Regions from separate parts of the Homo sapiens genome. Here region 1 is linked to region 2. The links are contacts of gene promoters, found by promoter capture Hi-C in blood cells and fetal thymus (Javierre and others, 2016). All regions are on one chromosome and are shown on one strand. Each heading gives the region's core, a stretch centred on a gene start or on the middle of the fragment in contact. The rest is flanking DNA. Distances are from core to core; before and after follow the strand shown. Region 1 has its middle 110 kb from the start of SIRPA. Region 2 holds the start of SIRPA (signal regulatory protein alpha).

What was found. Contacts are between HindIII fragments. The CHiCAGO score rates a contact against its expected background, and 5 or more counts as called.
Region 1: a contact is called between a fragment that was not itself captured here and the fragment with the promoter of SIRPA in region 2, in 2 of 17 cell types (monocytes and neutrophils). The highest score is 8.4, in monocytes.

The regions. Positions count from the first base shown.
Region 1 is chr20:1,780,800-1,785,229 of GRCh38, forward strand. No RefSeq gene overlaps it. Among named protein-coding and RNA genes, the nearest start is that of SIRPA, 110 kb to the right of the region's middle. The HindIII fragment of the contact is 959 bases long and covers 1,724-2,682 here.
Region 2 is chr20:1,894,013-1,898,241 of GRCh38, forward strand. It overlaps SIRPA (signal regulatory protein alpha), which reads left to right and starts at 1,395. Exons shown (of 8, transcript NM_001040023.2): 1 at 1,395-1,514. The coding sequence starts at 1,436. LOC102724545 (a long non-coding RNA gene) reads right to left here and starts at 238. Exons shown (of 4, transcript NR_186374.1): 1 at 107-238. RefSeq lists silencers at 359-618, 629-748 and an enhancer at 2,040-2,555. The HindIII fragment of the contact is 10,599 bases long and covers 1-4,229 here.

The DNA of each region.
Region 1 (4,430 bases), core at 953-3,452, 110 kb before region 2:
AGCTGTGTGGGTGGTAGCTCTACTTTTTGAGCTGGGAAGATCTGGAGAAGGACCAAGTTGGGATAGGAAGGGAATGGTGATGAATCAGGATTTCCATTGTGGATGTAAGTTTATAAGGACTTGAGTGTAAAGTCAAGAATCACCCCAACAGGGATGGTTGGCCCCCCTACTCGGGTGCCTCCCATCAACACTTCACTAGACCCCCGTTGTCTGCTTGCTTACCTGCAGTGACAGGGAGCTGTCTCCATGAGAAGCAGCTCCATTCACCCTCACACCCAGCTAGGACTATGACAAAATATTTCCTGCTTCTGGGATATAACCTGGGATCTGTCTCCCAGAATTTTCCCAGGAAAACTGCAGGATGAGACTCACCCCTCCTTCTAAGGACAGCCTTGCAGAGCTCTGGAGCAAGAAACTCCCCAAGTCTTCACAGCATTCCCTAAGCCCCTGCTCTGCACCAGGTCAAGAGCTGGGTGCTGAGACCACAGAGATGAGTCAGACAGGACCCCCACCCTTGAGAAGCATCTGGTCAGATGGGGGTGAAAGGCAAATAAACAACCAATGACAAGCAGGATGACAGGCAGAGGGCAGCGCAGGAGGCCATAGGAACTTGTCCTCTTAGCACACAGCTCTGGTACCTTCTGGACTGTGCTCTGCCCTCATCACCCACCCTGCACACAGCACCGTGTGGTTCAGAAAACATTTTCAGCCATGTGTGCTTCTTTTCTTCCACATCTCAGCTGTGGGAGGCTGGTATTATTGTCCTCACTTTCCAGAAAAGGAAACAGAGATTCAGAAAGGTCTCGTGACTTGCTCAAGGTCACACAGCCTATCAGTGACTAAAGAGGGAGGGTAAGAAGGCCTGTCTGACTTTGGGTCCAGGACTCTTCCATGCCTCCAATGCCGGAGGCTCCATCACTCTGGCGACTTCTCTCTCTCTCTTTTTTTTCTCTCTCTCTCTTTCTTTCTCTCGCTCTGTCTTTTCCACCCTTACACCCTCTCTGACCCAGAACAGGTAGCCACCCAGACTAGAGCTGACATCGGGAAAACTGGGAGGTGGGCTCCTCTTTTACCCCCTGACCTCCCCCGAGCCCCTCACCCTTAGGTCACTTCCTCTTCTGACCCCCAAGCTCCCACCAGCTCCCTTTGTCCGCAAGGTCTACATTGAAGAAAAGATGCAAAACAGCACCTGACTGGCAGGAAAACAGCTCAGTCACCTCCTCTGAGCCTCAGTCTTCCTTCAGAAAGACACAGTGGCTGGATTTGGTCATTCCTGGGGGTCTCCTTGCCTGCCCTGAGGGTCTCTCTGGGCAGGAATCAGGACTCACCTGTGAGTCCCAGCAGAAGGGTGGGCAGGAGGGAGCCCAGGGCCCGCCCAGGTGTGGTAGCCATGGTGAGAGACTCACAGTGCTCCTGGTCTGTTCCTGGTGGCAACCACTGGATAAGGCCCTGAAAGAGCCCAGGAGCCACTGACCAGCCTCTGACAGCCTGGAGCAGGCCTTATACTTCCCAGCTGCCTACCCCACCCCATTCTCTGCCATGCCTGGAACAGAGGCCTGAGCCACAGTGAGGGAAGTGGTCACTGTGGCCACGGCCTCCTTCCAAGCTGCAAACCTTCAGGCCTGAGGTGTCTAACCAGGGAGGCATCTGGAGCCTTTTAATGGGTTCCGACTGTCCCTGATTCCCCATGAGCAAAACCAGAAAGCGGCTGAGCTCTGCCTCAAGCTTCAAGCCACAGAGCTGGCCTCTGATAGGCTGAGCCTTGATGTCCCTTGTCCTGGAGGCTCCTCCATGCTGAACAAGCAGCATCAAGAGCCTGCCCTGTCCCAGGCCCAGACACGGCTTCTGGGAATGCAGAATGGATCAGATATGGGCCCAGAGGGTTGAGAAGTGAGCCTTGACATACACAACCACGTGCAACCAAGAAAGACCCTAGACTTTGAAACCCAACCCTTGCCTCACAGCTTAACTGGGCTTGGACAATGGTGGCACGGATTTCCCATGGCCCAGAACTGTCTACTAGGCTCCACGTTGGGGAAACATGAGTTTGAAACACAGCCACCAGTTTCCCTGACCTCCCTATGAAAACAACCTCTCCCTTTGGTCTCTCTCCATTTCCTTACCCTACGTTACTGGGCTTTCCAATGGTTAGCCCTGATGTATATTACTCGTTTTTATCCATTTCCCTCATGAAAAACAAATGATTTGCCCTGAAGACTACTGCTTTTTGTTCATGGCTGTAACCAGCAGCCACACAGTGCTGGGCACAGAATAGATACTCGCTAATAACAAATGAACCTTTGGGGCCAGGTATGTTCTCAAGACTGATTACAAAGCAGCCAAGCCCAGCCTGCTCCCCAGCCATCCCATCTCTTTGGGGTCTGTACGCTCAGCTAAAGTGGAGGGAGAGGCTAGAGAGGAGTTTTCTAGCCTGGGTGAGGCTGTTATGGAAACTCCCCTGACCTCACAACCCCCCACCACTACTCAGCCAAGCAAGGCACCCCAAAATGACTCCTAGATATTACGTGCCTGCAGGAGGAGGAGGCTGGCTTTTCTTTTTCCAGGTGTCTCCTGAAGCAACAGTGGATTTGCTGATCCACCTTGATGTTGCCCTGAGCAGGAGAAAAAGGAACTGAAAAGAGACAGCAGGGTAGAGTGACGGGGTGGCAGGGCAGCAGCTCAAGCTTCCTCCATGCAGAGTGGCAAGGGGGTGAGGTCCATGGAGAGACCCTCATTGAAAGGGGGGAGCCGACCTTAGAGCATCCCACTCAAGAGAGATGACCACTGGCAAGAGGGCCTAGGAGTAAGAGACTGCAGCATGGACTCCAGCGGGGAGCTGTGAACCTGGATCAGATCATGCATAAAAGAGACTGTGCAGCAGACTGTGTACCCCCACAGCATACACACATGGGCACACACACGTGCACATGCATGCACACATGCACACATTCAGGATCCTCCTAGGAATCCACACCTGTGCCCTAGGAGGCAGCTGGCTTCCAGAGTCCAGCCATAGTGAACAGAGCATTGCTGGGTAAAAGAAGTCCCTCTTTTTCCATCTCCCTTCCCAGGCCCTAACACACCAGATGATAGACAGACCCAATTCAGGGAAAGGAGGAGGGACAAAAGAATGCTTCACCTCCATCCCTTCCAGATCCCTCAGCAGGGACTTGGAGGCAGCAGTGGGCTGGGGTGAGAGAAGGAAGTGGACGCTGAACTAGATGTAATGTTGGCATTTTCAACCAGACTAGTTTGGACTGGGCAGGGCCTGACACAGAATAGTTACTTTATAAAGTTTGGTAAAATTATTCATCTACCCTCAGTTCCTTGGTGACACTAGCCACATTTCAGACACTCAATAGTCACGTGTGGCTACTGGCTACCATAGTCGACAGTGAGGTCTTGGGTGAAACATTCTTCATCAGGGAAGTCTTTTCTACCCTAATGTCTCCCTGTGGGTTCAAATACTTCTCTTGCAGAGCATTTATCACAGTTATAATTAAACTGTTAACTTGAAACTAGTTGCATAATAACTCTTTCCCTTATTAGACTGTAGGCTCTGGAGGACAGGGACCATGTCCTTGGTCACTAGTGTAAATAAGTGCCGGATGAATGTTTGTTGGATGGATGGATGGGTGGGTGGATGGATGGATGGGTGGATGGATGGGTGGATCCATGGATAAACAGACTAAGAGGAAGGTATGTGCTACAGGGCAAGGGACAGAAGGAAGCAATCCCACTGAGAAAGCAGAGAAGCCTTCCTGGAGGAAGTGGGCTTCCTTCAGGGCTCCTGTCTCAGCCCTCCAGCTTAATCACACCATCTACACAGAAGGAGAAGACTGGCAACACTAGGGCTAAGCTGCAGTGGGTGGGCAGCCATGGGCAGCCTGCCTTGTGGGGCTGGAAGGCTGAAGGGGAAGTGGAGAAGATGAGGTTCTCCAAGGAGTGGCCTGAGGAATGCCAAAGTACCCACAGGGCTAGCCCAGGCTGGGCCATGCGTCCACTGGGTAAGGCTTGGCTTCCTCTGAGTAGAGTCACGTCAGTCTCCTTCCTTATTCTAGCACCGGCAAGAACTGGCTGTCACGTACTCTATAAGCACAACCTTTTATAGGAGCTGGGGACCCAAGAGCCCTCATCATGAATATGGGCCCCTGTGCTGGCCTAACAGGCTGAGGGCCCAGAGAGGACAGAGAGTTGCTAGCTCTTCAGAAAAGGGACACTGGGCCAGGTGCAGTGGCTCATGCCTGTAATCCCAGCATTTTGGGAGGCCAAGGAAGGCGGATCATGAGGTCAGGAGTTCGAGACCAGCCTGACCAACATGGAGAAACCCTGTCTCTACTAAAAATACAAAAATTAGCTGTGCGCGGAGGCATGCGCCTGTAATCCTAGTTACTCAGGAGGCTGAGGCAAGAGAATCGCTTGAACCCAGG
Region 2 (4,229 bases), core at 145-2,644:
CCTCCCCGCGCCTCTTTTCCAGGCGGCACCGAAGTCCTTCCTACACACACGCTATTTTTGTACCATCATCTCTTCTTCCTCTCCCCTTCCCCCTGCGTTCACTTACTTCCTTCTTTTCCTTCACCTCGGCCCGGCTCTGAAAGGATCGGGCCCCTCCGGCCCGCACCCACCCCCAAGAGGGGCCTTCAGCTTTGGGGCTCAGAGGCACGACCTCCTGGGGAGGGTTAAAAGGCAGACGCCCCCCCGCCCCCCGCGCCCCCGCGCCCCGACTCCTTCGCCGCCTCCAGCCTCTCGCCAGTGGGAAGCGGGGAGCAGCCGCGCGGCCGGAGTCCGGAGGCGAGGGGAGGTCGGCCGCAACTTCCCCGGTCCACCTTAAGAGGACGATGTAGCCAGCTCGCAGCGCTGACCTTAGAAAAACAAGTTTGCGCAAAGTGGAGCGGGGACCCGGCCTCTGGGCAGCCCCGGCGGCGCTTCCAGTGCCTTCCAGCCCTCGCGGGCGGCGCAGGTCCGGGCCCGGCAGGGACGGGGAGGGGCAGAGCGGGACCGGTCGGGGCTGGGGACCAGCCGCGCGGGCTTCTGAACGGGCACGCTGTCGGAGCCGGAGGCTCGTCTAGTCCCGAGCCCCAGCGGGCCGCGGCGGCTCGCGGGGCCGCCTTCCCGGGACAGCAGCCGGGGCCCGGGCGCCGGCGCGGGGGAGGACGCTGCCCTCCCCGGCCGGGCGCGCAGCTCGCAGCCCTCGCTCCCTCCCCCGGGGCGCGCAGGCGGGCGCTCGCTCGCAGAGAAGGTGCCGGCGGGGCCGGAGCCCCGAAGCCTCCCCGGGCGGCGGGAAGACGGGAGGAGGGGAAAGGGAAGGAGGGAGGGGGTCGGGCTGCCGGGAGGGCGGGGGCAGCGGCCGGGACTGCGGGCCGGGAGCGAGCCCAGCCGCCCGCGCCGTGTGGAGCCCGGGCGGGGCAGGTGGGCAGCGGCGGGGGCGGCTCCGCGCGGCCGGGCTCGGCCGTGCTGCCCCTCGCCCCTGCTCGCGCGGTCCTCTCTCCCGCGCGGTCTGTCGGTCTGCGCGCCGCCTCGCTCCTCGCTCCTCGCTCTCCCCCTCTTTCTCCCCCTCTCGCCTCTCCGTGTCTCTGGCTCTCTGCCTGGCTCCCTTGGGTCTGTTTCTCTCTCCTGCCGCCTCTCTCTGGCCGCCCCTGGCTTTATTTCTCGCGCGCTTGGGGTCTCTCCCAGTCTCCGTCTCTCCATTTCTCCTGGGGGGCGGGGAGGGGGGGTCTCCAAAAACCGCGGCGGCGGCGGCGGCCGCTCCAGGCGCCCGTTCCGGAGTCGGGGGGAGGCCCAGCCGGGAGGGGGGAAGGGGGGGAGCCTTAGTCATTTCCCCGCTCCAGCCTGCTCCCGCCCGAGCGCGCACTCACGGCCGCTCTCCCTCCTCGCTCCGCAGCCGCGGCCCATGGAGCCCGCCGGCCCGGCCCCCGGCCGCCTCGGGCCGCTGCTCTGCCTGCTGCTCGCCGCGTCCTGCGCCTGGTCAGGTAAGCACCCCCCCGCTCCCCACCGCTGCACTCCCCAAACTGCGGGCTCAGGCCTCTCAGACTGGCACTGGGACCCCTTCGGCTAATGCCGAGCAGTAATAGGGGGAGAGACGCCTGTAACCAGGGTTATAGATGCAGAAACTGAGGCCCAGAGAGGGCCAGCGACATGCCCAAGGTCACACAGCCAAGGGTAGAACCCAAGTCTCTTCTATGAGAGTTTGTCTCTGTGGACTCTGACTCTGTGCACTGTGCTGGGCACTGAGACAAAAGAGCCGAGTTGCTTCACTCAGCCCCTGCCCGGTCCAATGGGGAAGGCTGACTGACAGTGGCTTTCAGAGCAGGGCCGTCCGGCTTCCCCAGAATCTGTCCCCATGGACATACGACTTTCCACATGTTTGACTTCAGGGTGTGAGGGGAGGAGGTGAGGGCAGAGGTCCTCCCGATGCTGCCTGGAATGGAACAGAGACAAGCTGTTGCAATTAGGGAAGAGTGAGCCCTCCCTCTGGTGCGCAGAGTAAACCGGTGTTAGTGTGTGCCTGGGAGAGAGGGAGCCGGGAGGCCGCGGTAACCCCAGAGCGAGCTGCTGCGAGCAACAGATCCTTATGTAAAAACACGGTGGATTGTCCCTGTGGTTGCCAAAGCCTCTCCCTGGTGGTCTTGCTCCTTGAGGCGCTCCCAGCTCCCCCTTCCTCCTGCCTTCCCCGAGCTTCCAGGCAGCTCCCTGCAGTTCAGGTGCTCCGCGGGGATGTTACCTGTGGCTCTGACCATGTCTTTCTGTTGGCCTACATCAAACACCTGGCTGTCGCCGGCAGGCGGGCTCTGAAGGCTACTGTGCATGTTCACCAAAGGGTGAGGTCACCATTCAGGAGTCTTGCTTCTTAAATGGGTTTTGCAAAACCATGGGTCTCCTGGGAGGGCACCGGGTGGGGGGCGGGGGGAGCAGAGAAATGGCATTAAGGGAGTTGGGAGGGAGAGAAAAATGGGGATCTTGTTTTTTGTCGTCTTGAAACTGTGTTGTAGGCAGTGGGGTCTCTCTGTACCTCCCACCCTTGAGGAGGGAGGTAAAGATGAGCTCAGTGTCCAACACCCCCTTTTGCGTTTGACTAGAGATGGTAACCATCTGATAGCAGGGAGAAAGGGAGAACTAGCAAAGAGTGGGTGGAAGGAGAAGTATGGGGGGTAGACAGCTGCTTCTCTCTGCCCTGCAGTTTCCCCTGAAACCCAGGAATTCACATAGGCATCCCCCCACCCCACCCCACCCTCCACCCCCAGTTCTTTTCAGTTATAGTTGCGTCCTTGCTGGGCTGAAGGGAGCACTGATACAGTTCACGTCTCTCCAGTGAGTGGCATCTCCTATCTGCTCCTTCCTGCCTGAGCTGGCCATTTGTACCCTGCAAAAGTCCGAGTTCCTGCCCTGCCATCCTTCCTGGCCTGGAAATGCACAAGTGTCACTCACAAGTGCTTAATTTTCCTGAAGCAGGGAATTGGGCCCGAGTTAATTTCTAAATGTCTATTCCAGACCCTTCTCCGACCAGGAGGCTGTGGTTCAGTCCCTGGCAAACGAGCAGTGACGCTGATTAGCAAGTGCTCCGATGGGCAGCCTGCCTTTCCTGGGGCACCGGCTGGGAACACCAACACCTTTCTTGTGAGCACATCTCCCCCTTTTGCCTATAAAAACAGTCTATAAGATGGTAAAGATTGGGCCATAAAACTTCCGTTCCAATCCATTCAGCATCAATAGCCTGAAAAAGTGGGAGCAGCAGAGGGGCCAAGATTAGCTTTGAAATAAATAAATCTTAGGAGGTAAGAATGAATTTCTTGGTCGAGGGTGGTGGGGAAGGGATGAGGTGCGACCATCATAGCTCAAGTCTCCCATTATCCTTCAGTATCTGTTCTTCGGGGTCCTGGTCACACCATGGGCCTGGGCAGGGAAGTCACCTGGTTTGGCTGAAGGATGGGGCCTCAGGCCCCTCCCCCTATTGCTCCAGACATGGAATTTACAACAAAGAAGTAGAGAGACAGGATATGAGGGTAGGAAGGTACAAGGAGGCAGTTGTCCAATTTTCTAAGAAAATGGATTTGTTCGAGTGAGAAACTAAAATGTCAGGTTTAGGAAGGCGGCTTTGGATTGAATGACTACTAGTGTCTCAGGCAGAACTGTCAGCCTGGGAGGTGTCACATGATTCCTGTGTCTTCACATGATCACTGTTTTGGGGGGGTGGGGCCAATCATGTGAATTATCCTGGGTGGGGGAGGCAAGAGAAGAAGTTTCTAAAGATTGCTTTTAGCACAAATGCTGCCAAAGGGAAATTCTAAAAAGATCCCAGTGAAGTCACCAACCTATGTTTTTGGACCCAATGTGAGGCCTGTTTCCTAAAACAACTGCACTGAGGGAGATTCTGAGGCTGGGAGAAGGGCAAGGGACTGAGGCCTGGGGACACCTGGCACCTGATTTTGTGTCAGCAGGGCCTGACGCTGAACCCGCAGGATGCCTGCTTGGCCCCAGGTAGGCCTTGAGACCTCTGAGTCACCCCCCAGGCCGACCTCAGATAAACTCCCATTCATTTCTTCTCTCTGGCCTGGAGGAGGCCAAGCCAAGTTGCAGTTCAGGCTCTGGGGAGCAGCGGGGCCCCCCAGTGAACCTCTCACCGTTTGGTAGAGGGTGGCACTCTGGGGGCTCCTCTGTACTTTCCTAAATGGTAAAGTTAATCTCAC